Linked DNA regions of Homo sapiens: all the other regions are linked to region 4. Evidence: promoter capture Hi-C in 16 types of primary human blood cells and fetal thymus (Javierre and others, 2016). All regions are on one chromosome and are shown on one strand. The core of a region is centred on a gene start or on the middle of the fragment in contact, and the rest is flanking DNA. Distances in the headings are between cores, read along the strand shown. Region 1 has its middle 16 kb from the start of PCDHA1. Region 2 overlaps LOC105378198 (a long non-coding RNA gene). Region 3 holds the start of PCDHA7 (protocadherin alpha 7). Region 4 holds the start of PCDHB14 (protocadherin beta 14). Region 5 overlaps DIAPH1 (diaphanous related formin 1). Region 6 overlaps PCDHA1 (protocadherin alpha 1). Region 7 holds the start of PCDHA2 (protocadherin alpha 2).

What was found. Contacts are between HindIII fragments. The CHiCAGO score rates a contact against its expected background, and 5 or more counts as called.
Region 1: a fragment that was not itself captured here is called in contact with the fragment with the promoter of PCDHB14 in region 4 in 5 of 17 cell types (erythroblasts, M1 macrophages, M0 macrophages and 2 more); the score reaches 10.9 in erythroblasts.
Region 2: a contact is called between a fragment that was not itself captured here and the fragment with the promoter of PCDHB14 in region 4, in 2 of 17 cell types (M2 macrophages and M1 macrophages). The highest score is 6.0, in M2 macrophages.
Region 3: a contact is called between the fragment with the promoter of PCDHA7 here and the fragment with the promoter of PCDHB14 in region 4, in 5 of 17 cell types (M0 macrophages, neutrophils, erythroblasts and 2 more). The highest score is 7.0, in M0 macrophages.
Region 5: a fragment that was not itself captured here is called in contact with the fragment with the promoter of PCDHB14 in region 4 in 3 of 17 cell types (endothelial precursors, fetal thymus and total B cells); the score reaches 7.2 in endothelial precursors.
Region 6: a contact is called between a fragment that was not itself captured here and the fragment with the promoter of PCDHB14 in region 4, in 4 of 17 cell types (M2 macrophages, M1 macrophages, M0 macrophages and 1 more). The highest score is 9.2, in M2 macrophages.
Region 7: a contact is called between the fragment with the promoter of PCDHA2 here and the fragment with the promoter of PCDHB14 in region 4, in 8 of 17 cell types (M2 macrophages, M1 macrophages, erythroblasts and 5 more). The highest score is 17.5, in M2 macrophages.

The regions. Positions count from the first base shown.
Region 1 is chr5:140,768,853-140,771,659 of GRCh38, reverse strand. No RefSeq gene overlaps it. Among named protein-coding and RNA genes, the nearest start is that of PCDHA1, 16 kb to the left of the region's middle. The HindIII fragment of the contact is 3,232 bases long and covers 1-2,807 here.
Region 2 is chr5:140,739,451-140,742,193 of GRCh38, reverse strand. The region is part of intron 3 of LOC105378198 (a long non-coding RNA gene); the gene reads right to left. Among named protein-coding and RNA genes, the nearest start is that of ZMAT2, 40 kb to the right of the region's middle. The HindIII fragment of the contact is 1,719 bases long and covers 626-2,344 here.
Region 3 is chr5:140,832,737-140,835,523 of GRCh38, reverse strand. It overlaps PCDHA7 (protocadherin alpha 7), which reads right to left and starts at 1,255. Exons shown (of 4, transcript NM_018910.3): 1 at 1-1,255. The coding sequence starts at 1,140. All of the region lies in intron 1 of PCDHA1 (protocadherin alpha 1), which reads right to left. All of the region lies in intron 1 of PCDHA2 (protocadherin alpha 2), which reads right to left. All of the region lies in intron 1 of PCDHA3 (protocadherin alpha 3), which reads right to left. It also overlaps PCDHA4, PCDHA5, PCDHA6 and PCDHA@. The HindIII fragment of the contact is 15,813 bases long and covers 1-2,787 here.
Region 4 is chr5:141,222,046-141,224,947 of GRCh38, reverse strand. It overlaps PCDHB14 (protocadherin beta 14), which reads right to left and starts at 1,605. Exons shown (of 1, transcript NM_018934.4): 1 at 1-1,605. The coding sequence starts at 1,442. It also overlaps PCDHB@. The HindIII fragment of the contact is 16,360 bases long and covers 1-2,415 here.
Region 5 is chr5:141,576,722-141,579,421 of GRCh38, reverse strand. It overlaps DIAPH1 (diaphanous related formin 1), which reads left to right. Exons shown (of 28, transcript NM_005219.5): 9 at 226-334; 10 at 797-907; 11 at 1,079-1,197; 12 at 1,831-1,947; 13 at 2,551-2,666. Among named protein-coding and RNA genes, the nearest start is that of DIAPH1-AS1, 20 kb to the right of the region's middle. The HindIII fragment of the contact is 661 bases long and covers 1,018-1,678 here.
Region 6 is chr5:140,889,696-140,892,547 of GRCh38, reverse strand. The region is part of intron 1 of PCDHA1 (protocadherin alpha 1); the gene reads right to left. All of the region lies in intron 1 of PCDHA2 (protocadherin alpha 2), which reads right to left. The region is part of intron 1 of PCDHA3 (protocadherin alpha 3); the gene reads right to left. All of the region lies in intron 1 of PCDHA4 (protocadherin alpha 4), which reads right to left. It also overlaps PCDHA5, PCDHA6, PCDHA7, PCDHA8, PCDHA9 and PCDHA10, and 4 more genes. Among named protein-coding and RNA genes, the nearest start is that of PCDHA13, 9.0 kb to the right of the region's middle. The HindIII fragment of the contact is 2,103 bases long and covers 450-2,552 here.
Region 7 is chr5:140,793,412-140,796,111 of GRCh38, reverse strand. PCDHA2 (protocadherin alpha 2) reads right to left here and starts at 1,260. Exons shown (of 4, transcript NM_018905.3): 1 at 1-1,260. The coding sequence starts at 1,147. The region is part of intron 1 of PCDHA1 (protocadherin alpha 1); the gene reads right to left. It also overlaps PCDHA@. The HindIII fragment of the contact is 8,329 bases long and covers 1-2,700 here.

The DNA of each region.
Region 1 (2,807 bases), core at 100-2,599, 450 kb after region 4:
AAAATGTTTGCAAGCACATATCTGACAACACACTTATATCTAGTACATATAAAAGAACAGTCAAAACTCAACAGTAAAAAAGCAAACAGCCCAATTAGAACCTGGATATGAAAAGACATTTTACCAAAGAAAATATCCAAGAAGGCAAAGAAACACATGAACATATTTTCAATGCCAGTAGCTATTAGGGAGGAGCAATAAAACTACAATTGGGTATTATTAGATACCTATCAGAATGACTCAGATAAAATGTTGAAAACACCAAATGTTAGAAAAAAATTCAGAGAAACTAGATTACTCATACATTCTGGTGATAATGCAAACTGCTATAGCCACTCTGATAAAGAGTAAGGCAGTTTCTTTAAAAACAAAACAAAGCAACCAACTACCCATGGACCTCTCATATAGAACAATAATTGCATTCTTTGGCATTTATTTAATAGAAGTAAAAACTTGTGTTCACACAAAAACCTTTACACAAATGGTAATACAAATTTCATTCATAATATTCCTGAACTTAAAACATCCCAGATGTCCTTCAACAGATGAATAATAAACAGGGGAACATCTATGTAATGGAATTCTATTCCATTATATTAATACATTCAATAACCTGGATGAATTTCCAGAGAATTATGCTGAGTGAAAATGACTAATCACAAAATGTTTTATACTGTATGATTTTATTTATATATCATTCTGGAAATAACAACATTTTAAAAGTGGAAAACAGATTAGTCGTTGCAAGGGTTAAGAAAGAGGTGGGCCAGGGGTGAAAGGTAGTATGGGCATAAAAGGGCAATATAAGGAATCTCTGTAGTAATGGAAATGTTCTGGATCTTAACTGCATCAATATCAATATTTTGGATGTAATATTGATAGTCTTGGAAGATGTTACCATTGTGGAAAAGTGGGTAAAGAGTACAGAGGATTATTATTTCTTATAATTGCATGTGAGCCTACAATTATCTTAAATAATAAGTGTGTTCATCTGATTTGCTTTGCTATAAAGGACTACCTGAGGTCAGTACTATATAAAGAAAATAGGTTTATTTGGCCAATGGTTTGGCAGACTGTACAAGAAGCATGGTGGCAACATCTATTTCTGATAGCCTCTTATTCCTGAGGCCTCAGGAGCTTTTATTCATAATAGAAGGTGAAGGAGGAGGCCAGGCATGGTGGCTCATGCCTGTAACCCCAGCACTTTGGGAGGCCAAGGCGGGCAGGTCATGAGGTCAGGAGTTCGAGACCAGCCTGGCCAACATAGTGAAACCCCATCTCTACTTAAAAAAATACAAAGATTAGCCCGGTGTGGTAGCACGCGCCTGTAGTCCCCACTACTCTGGAGGCTGAGGCAGGAGAATTGCTTGAACGAGGGAAGTGGAGGTTGCAATGAGCTGACATCGCTCCACTGCACTCCAGCCTGGGCGACAGAGTGAGACTCTGTCTCAAAAAAAAAAAAAAAAGGGAGAGAGAAGGTGAAAGGGGAGCAGGCATATCACATGGCAAGAGAGGTGCCAGGCTCCTGTAAATAAGTAGCTATCATGTGAACTAATAAAGTGAGAATTCATTTATTACCACAGGGAGGGCACCAAGCCATTCATGAGGGATCCACCTCCATGACCAAAATACCTCCCACTAGGCTCACCTCCAAAATTGGAGATCACATTTTAACATCAGATTTGGAGGATACAAATATCCAAACCATATCAACAAGTTTAATTATAAAATCAGAAGCGAAGACAGCAAAATCATGAACAAGGAGGCTCCGAACTTTTGTCCCCCAACAGAAACATCAACAAAACAAAAAACAGTCAAAGGTCTACAACAACCAAGTAAACGCCCAATCAAGAAAAAAAAATCTATGAACATATTTAGACTGTAAGAAAAAAAAAATCTAGCCAGGAGCTGTGGCCCATGCCTGTAATCCCAGCAATTTGGGAGGCCAAGGTAGGAGGTTTGCTTGGGCCAGGAGTTTGAGACTAGCCTGGGTAGTCAGACTCCATCTCTACCAAAAAATAAAAATGAAAACAGCCTGGAAAACAGAGAAAGACCCTGTCTCAGAAAGAAACATTTGGTGATGATTTTACTCTTCCTTGCCTGACCTTCTTCCTGGCACAATATCAAACATGGTCTTGAATTGGTGACAGCACAGTTCCCAGTTCCTTCCCTAGAACCAAAGGGTGAAGAGCAGACTTCATTTACAATTTTTTTTGTTTGTCTCTTCTAATCTGTCTAGGGAAACAACTGAAGGACTGAAGCAAAGTGTTTGATTGTTTGAAGGTTAAAGAATTTGCAGGTGGCTATAATTTTAATGTTTGTCCCCTCCAGGCTTCATGTTGAAATTTGATCCCCATTGTGGCAATGTTAGGAGGTAGGACCTAGTGGGAAGCATTTGGTTCATGAAGGTGGATACCTCATGAATAGATTAATACCTTCCCTGCTGGGTTAGTGAGTTTATGCTCTAAATAGTTCCTACGAGAGCTGGTAGTTAAAAAGAACCTGGCATGCACACATAAACATCTGCCTCCTCTCTTATCATTTGATCTCTTTGCACACTGCCTAACCTTCCACATTCCACCATGATATGTGGCAGCCTGAGACCCTCAGATGGAAATATGCAATCTTGAACTTTCCAGTCACCAGAACCATGAGACTAATCATTTCTTTATAAACTATGTGGTCCCACTAGACTGTTACAGCATTACTAAACAGACTAAGACACAGGCACTGCTCCTAAAAGCTACAAGGTGACTACAAACCCACAGACATCTGGAGGAAGATATTATGCTTGGGGACATGTAATA
Region 2 (2,743 bases), core at 236-2,735, 480 kb after region 4:
GTTCTTATCACTTCCCAGGTTCTGATAAGGTATGAGGCATTCTGCCTCATCTTTCTTAGGGCAGAACTGCAAGCCATAAACTTCTTAGTTGCAAATGGACTCAGCTCCTCAGCAACAGGGTGTCTCATTACTCAGGTTGCCATCCCCTTTTGTATTGGTGCTGTCCTGTGGGAGAGCTGGAAATTCTGCTTATTTCCTTTTGTGTCTATGTAAGTAATAAACTGTCTGAATCAAACAAGGACTGCTGTTTCTTTACTAATCAAAGCTGCTAGGATTTGCCTGAGAATGGGTTCTTATTTTTCCTTGAAGTTCTGTTTCAAAATAGTTTCTTTTTCAAACCTTGTCAACTTGTCTTGGCAACCAGGGATTTGGTTCATATCTGGGAGAGATGACAGTAGTGAGAAGCTGCTCAGAGGAACTGTGGGGATCTGGAAATTTGGTGAAGAGCAGATTTACTCATGGAGTAGGTCTCAAAAGACTCTTACCAAGGCTAACCTCCAGAGTTTCTGTCCCAACCTTAAACCTCTTCAGCTCCTGACCCAGCCTAGTCTTCTCAGGAATCCATGCCGTTTTAGACCCCTCCTTGAAAAAGGGCTCTCTCCCATCTCCAAGAAAATGATAAGCTTGGTGGGGACATACATAGAGGACTAAAGAGGGTCCATGGACATCAAACCTGCCCCCAAAACACAGACAGGAAGAAGCATGCAAATATATCACTGAGATAATGCAGAAAGTAGATTGAATTTGGAGTTCCTTGACAGATAAGTGTCATGAGTTGGTATACCCTGGGCAGTAGGGTCAGCCTAGGCCTGAATGGTTCAAGAACGATGCTGAGTTTTAAGTTTCCTTCTACCCACCACAACTTCCAGACCAGGACACACAAACTTGGGAAGCCCCCATTTGAGGATGCACACCACTGAGAGAAACCCATGTCTTCCTTTCCCTAAAAACTGTTCCCCCAGCTGTGTCTAGGCTCACTCTCCCTCCTCCCACTCAGTGGCTACCTGCCACAAGTCTTGGACCAGCCTCAGTGCTTCCCAGATGACCAAACCGGGGTCATTTTAGCTCAAATCAACTTTCACAGCCAGTACATGAGTCAGACCCATGAAATCCTCCCAAACTGCCAAATGCCAGCCTTGGGTCTTTAAAGCTACCAGAGCTTCATTGTTACCTGGTTACTAGGTAATAACCCACAACAATTACTCCTCTCTGGATCTGGGCCTAAACATTCTGGTATCTTATAGCTCTTTTGTATTAATACTTTCTCTGATTACCTGAAATGATATACCACATAGAAAACTGTACTAAGAGTTATTGAAGAATGTGCAAAAAATTAACAAGAGGTCCAAGGAAAACTAAGCACATGAAGAAAAGTCAAGCATTAACTTCAGGAAAAGTAGAAAGAAGAAAAGGAGACAATCATGGTATATGACCATGTTCTGCTGGGAATTATATTTTGCAAAGGCATAAAAATGTTAACATGAATATTCATCTAACAAAGAATTGTTAGGGCCAGGCACAGTGGCTCACACCTATAATCCCAACACTTTGGGAGGCCGAGGTAGGAGGATGGCTTGAGCCCAGGAGTTCGAGATCATCCCATGCAACACAGTGAGACCTCATCGCGACTAAAAATAAAAAATTAGCTGGGCGTGTGGTATGTGCCTGTGGTCCCAGATTCTTGAGAGGTTGAGGCAGGAGGATCGCTTGAGCCCAGGAGGTGGAAGCTGCAGTGAGCCATGATCGCACCACTGCATTCCAGCCTGGGTGAGAGAGCAAGAGCCTGTCTCAATAAAAGAAAAAGAAAGAAAAGAAAAATTAAGTCATTTCAATCATATACAAACTATCCTAATTAATAAGAAGGAACACTTCCTAAATGATTTTCTAATGCTAAAATAACCTGATAGTGAATCCTATTGTAAAAAATACACACAAAAAAGGAAAAGCCCAGTCTAATGTCATTAATGTAAATAAATGAAAAAAAACCCATACTAATTATTAGAAAATTAAATCCAGTAGTACATAAAAAAGAATAATACAGCATAAGTAGAATTTCTCCAAGATATGAGGTTGACTTAACATTATAAAAGTAATTAGTATATATGCAAAGTTAATGAACTAAAGGGAAAATCATGATTATCTATGTACATGCAGAAAAATTACTTAATAAAATTCAACAACCTTTCATGATTTTAAAATAATCTTAATTAATCTTAAGATTTTTAGCAGATATTAGTTGTATCCTTAGGCATATAAGAGAATATTTGTAACTTGGTAAGGGTGTCCAGGGGAAAAAAAAAAAGCTAAAGCAAACATCATACTTAATGGTGAAATGATTAAAGCTTTCCCTTTGAAATCCAGAACAAGACAGGGATGTCTGCTATCATCACTTTAATCATCCTGTCGTCATTGTTCCAAAGGGCCTAACCAGTGTATACAACAAGAGAAAAATATAAAGGTCTGAGGTGTTCATATGGCATTCTCCATGGTTAGAAAAAGAAGGGGAAAAGTATAAGGAGGTTATTCCGTAGGATTTTGGGGAACAGGTGGTATTTGGTTACGTGAGTAAGTTCTTTAGTGGTGATTTGTGAGATATTGGTGTACCCGTCACCAGAGCAGTATACATTGAACTCAATTTGTAGTCTTTTATCCCTCACCCACTTCCCACCCTACACCCCTGAGTCCCCAAAGTGCACTGTATCATTCTTATGCCTTTGCAGCCTCATAGCTTAGCTCCCACTTA
Region 3 (2,787 bases), core at 6-2,505, 390 kb after region 4:
TCCAAAATCTCGGTCAAACACGCTAATCAATGTGATGACGGTACCTGGTTGGGCGTCCTCTGGAATAGGGAGAGACAGGGAAGTGAGAGTCAACTGTGGAGCATTGTCATTTACATCCACAACTTCCACAAGAACTGTACAATGACCAGCCAGGGGTGGGAAGCCTTTATCGACAGCCTCGACTGGGATCTTGTGTGCTCTACTTTCTTCAAAATCCATATGTCCTATCACTGTGATTGCCCCACTTAAGGGGTCCATGTGGAACTTGGATTTTATATCTGGAGAAACATCACTGGAGAAGGAGTAAATAATATCCCCATTCAAGCCTTCGTCTAAATCTGAGGCATTGGGGTGAATCACCAGCGTTCCGATAGAAACGTTTTCTGGTAATTTCACCGTATACAGGGTTCTGTCGAACACTGGGGCATTGTCATTGTTGTCCAGTACCGTGATGAGTAATTGAACGGTGCCAGTCAGCTCGGGTTTGCCTCCATCGGTGGCCGTGAGCAATAAATGAAGCTCCGGAGTTTCTTCTCTGTCTAAAAGTTTCCGTAATACAAGTCCAAGAGGTTTTACCTGCTGGTTGCTGGTTGGCACGTCCAGGAAGAAATACTCATTGGGGCTCAGTCTGTAAGTGAGCAGGGCGTTCTCCCCGATATCTGCATCGGACGCGCCCTCTAGTGGAAACCGAGAGTCAAGCGGCCTGGATTCCGCGATGAACAGATTCCTTTGTGTCGCTGGGAACACCGGAGGGTTGTCGTTAATGTCCTTCACCTCCACGTCCACATGGAAAACCTGCAGCGGCCTTTCCACGATCACCTCCAGGTGGATGCTGCACTCCGCGCTCCGCCCGCACAGCTCCTCGCGGTCGATCCGAGAATTCACAAACAAAATGCCATTCTGCAGATTTACCTCCAGAAGATCCCCACGGAATTTGCACACCGCCCGGAACAGGCGCGGCACCAGCTCCGCCAGCTCCAGCCCCAGGTCCTGCGCGATGCGGCCCACGAAGTTGCCATGTTTAGCCTCCTCGGGGACCGAGTAGTGGAGCTGGCCTCTCCCTGCCTCCCAAGCTGCTAGAATTATAATAAACAGCAGTAGATGTCGGCCCCCTGGGTCGTATCCATTCGGGCACACCATTTCAAATTATTGGCTTGTTTTTCTAGTCAGCAAAACTTGCCTTCGAATTTATAGGAATGTTTTTATCCCTTCATTTCAATCTCGATGTGTGGCCATTGTTGTGCATCCAAAGAGTGAAAGAGAGTGGAGCGTCTTTCCAGTGCGAAAAGGAATGACTTCCTTTTGCTGATTACGAAAGAATTTGCGGTAAAGAGCGACATCATGTGGCCATCATGTAAGTAAGAATTACAAACCATTACAAACTATTAATCAGATGAAAAGTTTTATTTCAAACTCTGAATTTTTTTCTTCATTGTTGTTAAAGGTTAAAATAGCATTTCTCATGATTGTTAGAAGCATTCTTAGGCGACTGATGGCTTTTGAATACTCAGTGTTACCAGAACTGTAGCTTCCTCATGCCTTAGAAAAACTTTTTTTTCACACAGTTTTAAATAAAGATAGAAACCTAAGTGACAACATGAATTTAAACAACTGCAAGTTTAAATTCCTTTGATCTAGATCCCAGGAAACTTCATATTCTTGATTCAGTATCGCTTGTTAAGAAAAATCCTGTACTCTTTTAGGGACCCAGGATCTCAAGAATCTACTGATTGATGAAAGAGAAACTTAGAAAGCGGTGTGTGTGTGTGTGTTTTCTTTTTAGGAGGCAAGAAACATTAGCAACTATCCAGACACTTCTCTTGGGAAAACAAAATAAGAGAAGGTTTGGGGAATCTTTGAAGGGGAAGAATTTGTATCATGTGAACTTTTTGAGGAGGAAGTATTCTGAATTTTTTGCTTTAGCAGAATCTATATATACTGTTTCAGGAGTTCATCATTTTATATTTGTTTCCTCATTCTATCCTTTCGAACACTTGTGTGTTATGAATATATGCCTATTTTTACAATCTCAAATATGATTTGTATTATTTCTTTTAAAATGTAAGTTTATTTTATTAGATAAATTTCAGTGCTCAGCCATCTCACATACAGCAGCCCTTTGATCAAGTCTTGAGGTATTTCATCCTTTTTGGATCTACCTTACTGTGTTCGTTTTCTGGAATGTTTCACTCCAATGTTCCCAATGGCATGTAAAATAATTATGTCTGTATTCAGATGCTTTCCTAAATAAGTTTTTATAATTGCTGCTCTCCTGGTGTATTGCAGTAGCTTCTTATTGTGTAACCTGTCCATTCCTATTTCATTCTCCTTCATTTAATCCTTGCAGTCATCTTCCGTTAATACTTTTTATTCGTATTGCTTCACACTTTTTGACAGCTTTCAAATGACTTTGAAGAGTGTCAAAATTACTCGTCTAGTACTCAAAGTTATACAAAAGGTTTTTCTCATATTACTTTTCTTGCTTTATATCACACTCTCTCTTATGGGAACCATGTGCTTTACCCAAAGTGGACTATTCCTCATTTCTAGGTACATTTGGAATTTTCTGTATACTCACTTAAGTTACTCTCTTCTCATGAATACCTGTTAGTCTCCATATTCTCCCAGGGAAAACTCTTTCCATTTTATAACCAGTAAAACATCATGACTCTTCACGGTCTCCTTCAACAAGGGAAAAAGGCAAAGATTTTTTTCCAATTCCAATAACACTATGATGTACCTTTCTAGCACCTCTTACAATATTCTTGCTTTTACTATCATCGTATT
Region 4 (2,902 bases), core at 356-2,855:
CCTGAGTCTCTGTCTGTGGCGCTGACGCTGCCGATGTGCAGGGCGGGGCTGTTGTTCTCGCGGACGAACAGGGTGTAGGAGGTTTGGGTGAAGGTGGGGGCGTTGTCATTGACGTCAGAGAGCAGCACGGTTATGTTGTACTCGGTTTTCAGCCTGGGTGTCCCCAAGTCTGTGACGGTGATCGTGATGTTGTACTCGGCTTGGCTCTCTCTGTCCAGTGCTTTTTCAGAAACTAGAGTGAAAAAGTTCTTGAAGGTCGGTTTCAGGAAAAAAGGGAGGTTATCTTGAATAGAGCAAATCATCCTCCCATTGTCTCCAGAGTCTTGGTCTAGGATACTAAAAAGAGCTACTAGGGTCTCTGAGGCATTCTCTGGAATTCTCTTTGTAATCGACGATATGGTCACTTCTGGTGGGTTGTCGTTTATATCCATAACTTTAACTAGAAGGGTGCATTTTCCTGAAAGACCCCCACCATCTGTTGCCTGAATATTTATAGTGTAGGACTGTATTACTTCAAAATCCAGGGGTGATCTCAAATTAACTTCCCCAGATATTGGATTAATTTCAAATGTTTTACGAATATCTTCTGATGCATGGAAAAATGTGTAAGATATTTTTCCATAGTTTCCTGCATCCAGATCCTTAGCTGAGATGGTGGCAATCCAGGAGCCAAGGGGTCTGTCCTCGGGGACTTGCACCTCATAGAGACTCTGAGGAAACTCAGGGGCATTATCATTGATGTCCAACACCTTGATGAGAACCAAAGTTGTCCCAGACTTGGGCGGGGATCCACCATCCACTGCTGTGAGTGTTAATCTGAGTTCAGCTTCCTGTTCATAATCTAAAGCTCTATCTAGGACCAGCTCTGGGTATATCTTTCTGTCACTACTGTCGGGAATTTTAATGTAGAAGTGAGAATTGGGGCTAATTGTGTAGTTTTGGAGACTGTTGCTTCCGACATCCAAATCTTGAGCACTCTCCATTAGAAAGGTAGCTCCAACAGTGGTACCTTCTGATATTTTAATAAGTATTTCCTTGTCTAGAAATGTAGGGGAGTGATCATTTATGTCTTTGACACACAGCTCAAACCGAAAAAACTGTAAAGGGTTTTCCAAAACCACCTGAAAATGCAGCACACAGGGCTCGGTGGAGCCACACAGCTCGTCTCGGTCTAGTTTCTCATTTAGGAGCAAATTCCCAGTCAGCAAATCAAGGTGCAAATACTTTTTATTATCATCAGACACTACCCGGGCTTCACGTGAAGACAGCTCCTCCACCCCCAGCCCTAGGTCCCTCGCTAGATTAGCCACAAAAGAGCCAATTTCTGTTTCCTCTGCCACAGAATAGTGTGCAGATTCAGTACCTGCCCGAGACAATCCCAGCAAAACAAGGAATATTAGAACTTGCCTTTTTCGCAGATCGAGTGCCCCTCTGATCTCCATGGTTCCTTTAGGCAATCTCTTGTGGAAAAACTGAAGCTCAGCCGTAATTTTGGAAGCTGAAGCTCTGGTTTTTAACAGGAACCCCCTGGAGAGTGTATCCTCCAGCAGCTCTGTAGGCGAAGCTCCTTTAATGCCTGTCTTTTCAGTGGGTTGGATGCTTTCTGTTCTCCTGAATAGCGAAGCTCACCGTGCCAGCCTATGTACTGTTTTCGTCTTATCCTGTAGCGCCACCATGTGTCTCCATGTTTTTTTTTTCATTAAAAAAGTTTTCCTCTTTGAAAAAGTAATTCATAAATACATCCGGAACATTCGAAACAAATCCCAGACATCATTTTTTTTCCTTTAAATACTTCACTAAGTATTTTTAATAGGTAAGGCCTTCTAAAAGATAATTGTAATAAAACGTTCACAATCAACAACTTGAGCAATAATTCCTTGGTGTAATTTATACTGCATTTGGTTTTCCCCAGTTCTCTCCAAAATGTCCTTTGCTGTTGGTTTGTTTGAATTTGAATCCAGAAAAGTCCATACACTGCATTATCACTGTTTTGAATGCTCGGCACTAAAGGATCTGTTAAAATATTCTGAACTGAAGAAATAATTTTTTATTTAAGTCATTTCTCGAGTAATTACAAATATATTATCTCCTTCACTCTTGTAAATACTTGTTGTCAGCTATAGTTGGTAATATCATTACTTTTTTCACTTTTATATTTTAAAAATATAAAGAAGGACATGGCACAAATAAGTTAGAGATAATTCTTGCTCTTACAGAGCTCACAAGCTAGAAAAATTGGCAGACAAGTAAACGAAGTATGTCATAATGTATGCATTTATAAAAAGTAATATAGAAATACCTAGAAAAGACTTCTTGTACCTAGGAGGCTGCATACCTTAGTGCTTGGGAATATGGGATCTGGAACCAAATTATCAATATTAGAATCCTGGTTATGTGACTTACTATCTATAAGCTTGGGCAAGTTATAGATACCTTTGTTTCCTCACCTGTAAAATGGGGTAATAATATTTGTCTCCTATGATTATTATCGTAGGCATCTAATGAATTAATATTTACAAAGTGGTTTGTAAGTGCTGGTTAAGTGTCTGTCAAAAATAAAATAATTAAGATCAAAGTCGGACTTGGGACATCAGTGAAAGCTTTCCTGAGGTAATGAAAAATACATTGTGATCTGAAGGAACTAGCCAGGAGAAGGAGGAATATTTCAGATGGGCATTTTGAGGAACACAGAGAAATGAAGTATGCCTTGGACTTTAAAAACTATGGAAGGGGAGGGTCTAACAATGAAATTAGGGTTAAAAGCATGGTGAGAACATGAATCATTATACAGGTCATATCATGCATTCTTGAATTTATCCTAAAGGTAATTCAAGTACAAAGATGGGTTTTAAATATCTGATTAACATGATTACATCTGCATTTTAAAAAATCAGTTTGGCTG
Region 5 (2,700 bases), core at 99-2,598, 350 kb before region 4:
CAGGAGCCTAGGGATGGATTGTAGGGAATGCATTTCCCTGAAGAGATGGTCCTTAGCTTTCAGCAGTTTCTGGAAACTGAGTGGTGAGAATAATAATGTGAGAAATCCGGAACACTGATAATGTCCTGTTTCCTAATCGGTCTGTGCCCCTGTGTAATTTACTCATTATACGTGTCCGTGTCACAGTACCTGGAAAGTTCTCTCCGTTTCCTTTCTCTTGGGCAGGAATGAAAGGGTTTTGGAGGCAATGACAGAAAGAGCTGAGATGGATGAAGTGGAACGTTTCCAGCCGCTGCTGGATGGATTAAAAAGTGGAACCACTATTGCACTGAAGGCATGTATATCCCCTGAAACTGGGCCCAAGAATAGAATTCAAGATGGACAGACTTAAATTCATTTGACCTTTTAATAAAATACATGGAGTGCCTCCCAACTATATATTTTACATTTCAGAATCTGTTATGAAGGGAAAATGATTAACCTTCTTTCTAAGAAGGTAAAGAATGAACTGTTTTCCTCATTATGAGATGGAAAAAGGCATGATATCTATTTACAATCTAGGAAAACCAAGACCTACAATAACATATACTCTCAAATCCTTGAAACCATTTAGAGTTTAGGCTCTCCGGATCTGTACTCAAACCAGGTCTCATTGCTATAGTAGAAAAGTCATCTTTAGAGTTTTTGTATTGTATCTTTCAGGTTGTATTGGGGACCTAAGAATGCATGTAAAGAAAATGGATTCTTGATCTCCAGGAGTTAGCATTGACATAGCTGCTGAATTTTCTTATTTTAGGTTGGATGCCTACAGCTGATCAATGCTCTCATCACACCAGCGGAGGAACTTGACTTCCGAGTTCACATCAGAAGTGAACTGATGCGTTTGGGGCTACATCAGGTGTTGCAGGTAAGATATTACACTTCATTAGAAAGGCTAGACTGGTTCCTTCTTGCTCTACAGCCCCAATAATCCCGGGGATAATTCTGGTTTTCAATTAAAAACCAGGTTGAAAAGCTTAGGTTTCTAACCACAGAGGATACTTTTGGGTTCCCTGACTTCTACTTTTGTTGTTGACAGGACCTTCGAGAGATTGAAAATGAAGATATGAGAGTGCAACTAAATGTGTTTGATGAACAAGGGGAAGAGGATTCCTATGACCTGAAGGGACGGCTGGATGACATTCGCATGGAGATGGAATATCCTTTTGCTGACTAGGTTCAAGGCAGATGAGACATTCATTGTATTTAGTTCCCTGATCCCTGTGTGGAATGGTTTGGGAGATGATGACTCAGAACAGAGCATCAGGCTTATGTGTCTTCTCATTAAATAAGGCAGGTGTATTTTTATTGCGCTGGCTTTACTTAGCTTATCATAGATCAGGGAAGTCAGTAAAGGTGATCTGAGGGTTGTTGAGCATGGAAGCCATCAAAATCAGTGTAAACTTCCTAGAATGTGATAGCTTAGCTTACTAAGATGTAGAACTGGCTTTTAGAGATGTTTGGACTGACAGAGGGAGTAATTTAGTTACCTGTTAATATTTTCAGTAAGTGACTTTGAGGCAGTTACCTCTTATTTTCTGTCTACTGCCTGATCTTCAAGCCAAGTACTTACTAGGAATCCTCTGTGTGTATAGTACCACCCAATTCACTGGTCCCTTAAAGGACGTTTTAGAAAGCTTAAAGTTTCTGGTGATGTTTACAGGAAGAACAGCCAGTAGAATGGAAGTGGTGTCTTGCTACTTTTCCCTAGCTTTTTCAAGAGTTAAATAAGCCACCTGTCAAACATAATTTCTGCATATTTGCTTTCCTTAGCCTATTTCCCTTTTCCACTGACTTTAATGAAGTCTTTCAGATTCTCTTAAACACAGTGAAGGATTCAAAGGCAGAGCCACACTTCCTTTCCATCCTGCAGCACTTACTCTTGGTCCGAAATGACTATGAGGCCAGGTAAGATGCTGTGCTTATGAGAAGTTTTGAATTTGAGCCTAAGTGGAGAGAGTGAATTCCTTAAATTCAAAGATTGTTCTGTAAAAGGAAAATGTAAAGACAAAGACCCAAGATTAGGGTTCATTAGTCACCGATATAAAGGAAGTTGTCTTATTTCTTTAATCCAACTCAAAGGCATCCCTATGGCAGAGGTCAGAGTGTATAAGGTGAAATGCCGTTCTGTTTTTGGAGGGGAGTAGGTAAATAGGATGAAGATGTTAGCAAACAGAAGTGGCAATTTAAAATTCTTTCTAGTTTCCTGGAAGTATAGATTTAGCAATAGCACTATCCATCACAGGAAGGATCAAACGCAAATTTTTAGATGGGAAAGTATTGGCACTAGGAGCGGATGGCAAGAAGTTTTGATTATTTGAAGTAGATAGGGTAGGGTAGCTGATGTGGAAAAAGGAGTTTTCTTAGCATGGCAGCAATACTTGTGTTAACTTTACAAAAGTTTTTCCAGGTCTCTCAGTTGTCAGAGCAATTACGTTTTCTTGGTCCTGAATACTTCTGAAAATTATATTTTGATTTTCCTTTGATGACCCTGTTTTTATTCTCTTGTAGACCTCAGTACTATAAGTTGATTGAAGAATGTATTTCCCAGATAGTTCTGCACAAGAACGGGGCTGATCCTGACTTCAAGTGCCGGCACCTCCAGATTGAGATTGAGGGATTAATTGGTAAGCATACTCTTCTATCTGGCTCCTCCAAGTA
Region 6 (2,852 bases), core at 252-2,751, 330 kb after region 4:
AGAAACAAAAGTCAGAATCCTGAGTCTACCAGTCATGGTGGAACTTCTTAAACAATCTCTCATGTTTGGCTAGGAAACTGAATAACCGTACTTAAAGAATACATGTAAATTTTAGATAATGAGGTTTTATCTAGAATACCTGAAGCTTGAAATAGATTAAGATTACCCATGATTGCTAGTGCCCCAAGATGCCTGGCAAAAGTCAATTAAAATCCATTCTGGAGAAAGAAAATGTTATAAGCCCCAAATTATTTCCAGGAAGAAGTGTTTAATACAACTTTCAGCACAAAATCAAAGATAACCAGGTTTATGTGGAGACAAAACACCATAAAGATACAATTTTAAAACACACCACAGGAATAGACCCATGAGGATCCCAGTTACTGGACATATCAGAAATAGACGCTAAAACCATGAGCTTATTGTGTTCCAGATATAAATGCCAAGCTTGAAAGTTTCGAGAGGAAACTAGAAATTATACAAAGTAACAATAAATTTGAAAAAGAATAAATAAAAGTATCTTAGACCATTTGTGCTGCTATAACAGAATGCCACAGACTGAGTAATTTATGAGAACGGAAATTTACTTCTCACAATTCTGGAGCCTAGGGGAAGTCCAAGATCAAGGCACCAGCATCTGGTGAAGATCTTCTTGCTGCATCGTCACATGACAGAGCCAAAAGCATAAGAGAGGGACAGGCTCCTTCCATCAAGTCCTTTTACAGTGCCGTTAATTTATTCATGAGGGCAGATCCCTCATAATCTAAACATTTCCTGAAATTCCCCACCTCCCAACACTGTTGTATAAGGGATTGAATTTTCAACACATGAATTTGGGGGTACAAATTCAGACAACAGCAAGAAGAGAGAATTATTAAACTTTAAGGTGGGTGAACTATCCACAATAAAGCCCAAAGAGCAAAAGGTGTTAAAATAAAAGGTAGAAATAGATGGGATAGAGTAATAAGATTAAAATATGTTTAATTAGAGTACTAAAATAATACTATAGAAATACAATGGAACAGAAGCAACATTGGAGAACATTATAGCTGAGGATATGCTCAAAGTGATGTAAAGGCATTAATTCACAAATTCAAAAATCCTATACAATGGACGTTGGGGACTTGGGGGCAAGAGTGGGGGGTGGCGAGGGATAAAAGATTGCAAATATGGTGCAATGTATACTGCTCAGGTGATGGATGCACCAAAATCTCACAAATCACCACCAAAGAACTTACTCATGTAATCAAATACCACCTGTACCCCCAATAACTTACGGAAAAATTAAAAATTAAAAAAAATCCTACTGAATCCAGAACAGGATGATTATAAAGACACAGCATGGTAAAACTGCAAAATATCAGACACACAGAAAATCTGAAAAGCAGCCAAAGGAAAATAAACAGAATACCTTTAAAGGAATGACATTTAGATTGACAGCTAAATTCTTGACAGCAACAATGGAAACCAGTAGACACTGGAATAATATTTACTATGTGCTGTGGGGGTCACACCTAAGATTATACCCTCAGAAAAAATGCTTTTCAATAATTATGATGAAATAAAGACATTTTCAGAAAAACAAAACCTGAAATCATTCCTCACCAGCATCTTTGGACTAAAGGAAACTCTCAAATTATTCTAACATGGAAAGACAATAATCCCTGATGAAAGGTCAGAGGGGCAAGAAGTAAGGAAGAGAAACAAAACTGGTAAATATGTAAGTACATTTAAAACAATGTTGATTGTATAAAATAATACTAATATCTTATGGGGTTTTAAAATATTTTTAAAGCATGACAGAAATAGTATATAAGTCAAAAGGGATTAAAAAGATTTTAAAAATGTAAGGTCCCTGCATTTCCCAGAAGGAGGAAGGGTTTCAGTTAACTTTTGATTTTGATATATCAAGGATACATGCTTAATTTTCTAGGGTAAGCACTAGCTATTCGGAAAAGGGCTTCCAAATAATACAGAAGGAAATGGAACAATAAAAAGTACTCAGTCATTTCAAAAGAAGATCAACAAAGGAAGGAAATAGAGACATAAAAATGGTGAGACAAAAATAACGCACAAAAAATTGAAATATTTGTGCCTAAAGATATCACTAGGTATTGTAAATATAAACTAAATAAATATTCAAGTTAAAATTTATAGATTATCTAAGAAAGAGTACTTGTTCAGGTTATCCATTGCTATATAGTAAACCATCCCAACTACCTAATATCTTAAAACAACTTAATATTACCTCTCCTGGTTCTGACTCAACTGAGTGGTTCTTGCTTGCAATCAGGTGCAGTAGTGTACTGGTAAATGCTTAACAACTAGGTCTCTGGGAAAAAAGAAAAACAAAAAACTCTGTTTTGTAGCATTTGCCTATTTCTGTGGCAGAAATACTCCTACCATGGCCAATTTCAAGCTACCAAAGTGACATCATTGAATCCAGAGTTGGGAATAAATTTGCATTATCAGTTCTCATAAGCCAGTAAAAGAGCCAGCTCCAACACACTACAGTCACCTGAAGCCTTCTACATTTTTCTGGCACCTAAGCTTGGAAAGCTAAGACAACTGGAGACTGGATAGTAATTTTTCTATCCATTTGGCTTCTCACAAGTCCAGCTTGAGCTTCTTTACAGTATGACAATCTCAAGGTAGTCAGAATTCTTACATGGTGGCAGGCTTCCCCCAAAACAAATATTCTCAGAGACCAAAGCATACTGTAAGACTTCTTATGACCTGACTTCATAAATCCCAGAATGTTACTTCCAATATTAAGACCAGTCAAAGTTCAAGGAAAGAAAAATTAGACTCTGCTACTCAGTGAGACAGTAGCAAAGAACTTGTGGAATATG
Region 7 (2,700 bases), core at 11-2,510, 430 kb after region 4:
CATTCGTACCAGAGTCGCGATCCGACACCGTGATGAGAGCAATGACAGTGCCCAGGGAAGCGTTCTCTGAGATGGGAAGTGAGAGAGACGTTATTGAGACTTCTGGTGTGTTATCATTGATGTCCACAAGTTTTAATGAAATTTTACAATGTCCTGACATTGAAGGGGTTCCTTTGTCAGTTGCAGTGACCTGAATCTCGTAGGACTTTGCTTCTTCATAATCTAATTTTCCCTTAGTTCTGATTTCCCCTGAGATGGGATCTATGGTAAACTTAGTCTGTATAGTGGAGGACACATCACTACCGAGTGAATACACAATCTCGCTGTTCGGTCCTTCATCTGCATCAGAAGCGTTTAACTTAACCACTAAGGTCCCATTTGCCGTATTCTCTAACAATTTTACTTTGTAAACTGATTGGGCAAAAGTTGGTTCATTGTCATTTACATCTAATACCTTAATAAGTATTTGAACGGTGCCCGTGAGCTCAGGTTTGCCCCCATCAGTAGCCACCAGTAACAAATTAACCTCAGCAGTTTCCTCTCTGTCCAGCGATTTCCCCAGCACGAGAGACAAAGATTCGCTTAGTTCATCATTTGCCTGTATATCTAGGAAGAAAAACTCACTGGAGCTGAGCTTGTAGGAGAGAAGAGCATTTACTCCTATATCTGCATCAGATGCTCCCTCTAGAGGAAACCGAGAATCAAGCAGCCTTGATTCGGGAAACCGGATAGTCTTTACTGTCATTGGAAATATTGGCGGGTTGTCGTTAATGTCCTTCACCTCCACTTCCACATGGAAAACCTGCAGCGGCCTGTCCACGATCACCTCCACGTGGATGCTACATTCCGCGCTCCGCCCGCACAGCTCCTCCCGGTCGATCCGAGAATTCACAAACAAAATGCCATTCTGCAGATTTACCTCCAGAAGGTCCCCGTGTCTTTTGGACGCCACCCGGAACAGGCGCGGCACCAGCTCCTCCAGCTCCAGCCCCAGGTCCTGCGCGATGCGGCCCACGAAGGTGCCGTGTTTGGCCTCCTCGGGGACGGAGTAGCGGAGCTGGCCGCTCCCCACCTCCCAGGCTGCGAGGAGCAGAAGCGAGAGCAGCCGTGTCCAGGCCCCTCGGCCCCTTCTGATAGAAGACGCCATTACCAATCCTCAATGTTTTGATCAAATTAGAAGAGCATGTTTTGCAAAAATTTAAATATTCTAGTCTCTGTTAAAGTCCTGCTGCTTCTCTTATTCCTCCGCTTCTCTGAAGTAACAAAGGGGCTCTGGGTATTTTCCTTCCTAGAGAACACTCTATGGTGGACAGCGACATCATGTGGCTAAAAGGAAGGCTCTACTGTTTATTCTGTAGATTTAAAACTAGTCGATTTTCTGGTTTAAGTTTACTCATAGCTTTCATCTTGGAAAAAAATAACTATTTTAAGCCCTAAAATATATTACCTTTTTACCCTTTTTTACTCTGGTTAAAAAACACACAACATAATATTTAAAATTACCATATTAACTATGATTAAATGTACATTTCAGTAATGTTAAGTATATTCACATTGTTACAAATTTTTCATCTTGGAAAACAGAAACTCTATACCCATTAGACAACAACTCCGCTTTTCACCGTCACTCCAGTCTCTGGTAACCACAGTCCTATTTTCTATTTCTATGAATTTCACTACTTTAGATATTTCGTGTAAGTGGACTCGTAAAGTATTTGTCTTTTTGTGACTGGCCTATTTCACTTAGCACAATGTCCTCAAGGTTCATCCATGTTGTAGCATGTGACAAGATTTATTTCCTTTTTAAGGCTGAATACTAGTCCATCGTATGTATACACCACGTTTTGTTTATTCATTCAAGCATCCGTGGATGGTTCCTCAAGGTTCATCCATATTGTAACATGTGACAGGACTTCTTTCCTTTTTAAGGCTGAATAATAGTCCAACATATGTATACACCACGTTTTGTTTATTCATTCAAGTATTCGTGGACATTTGAGTTGCTTCCATTTCTTGACTGTTGTGAACAGTGCTGCCATGAACATGGGTGTGCATATATTTCTTTGAGACCCTGCTTTCAATTCTTTTGGATATATTAGCATTTTTCACTATTTCTTCAAATGAAGAACATAGTAATCAAAGGTATTTTAGTCCATTGAAAATATATGTGTATATATACTGTTGTTTTGTGATTTAATTTTGATTTTTGAATTGTTTGCAAATGTTTTGAAATTAATAATTTATTTGTTTCTCATTTGGATAATGTACTATTACTTTAGAATATTCCTTTTCCATTACATTTAGACTTTTATGCAAGAACAATACAATCGATCTCTTTTTTTGTGTTAATTACTTGAGAATATCTTCTTTTGTTAATTTTTAGCTGATCCCTTCACAGTAAAAAAATGAAAATAGAATAAAGATAAGATGAGGATGAAATAAAATGAATCAAGGAGTGGGATAGCATACAAAATCCATAATAAAGGGTCACCTTCAGTTACTCTAACCATGTCACCAATTTTGTTTTCAGCTTCCTAGAGCAAAGAGAGAAGTAAAATTAATTGCAAAATTTGCAATGTCCGTAAGAGAAAAGCAAAGCTCTTGTTAAGAAAAGCTAGCTTTTTTTCCAATAACAATTTTTTTCCCTCATGTACAGTATCTTAAGATACTCATTTGTACCATCTATGGAAATGTGTATTT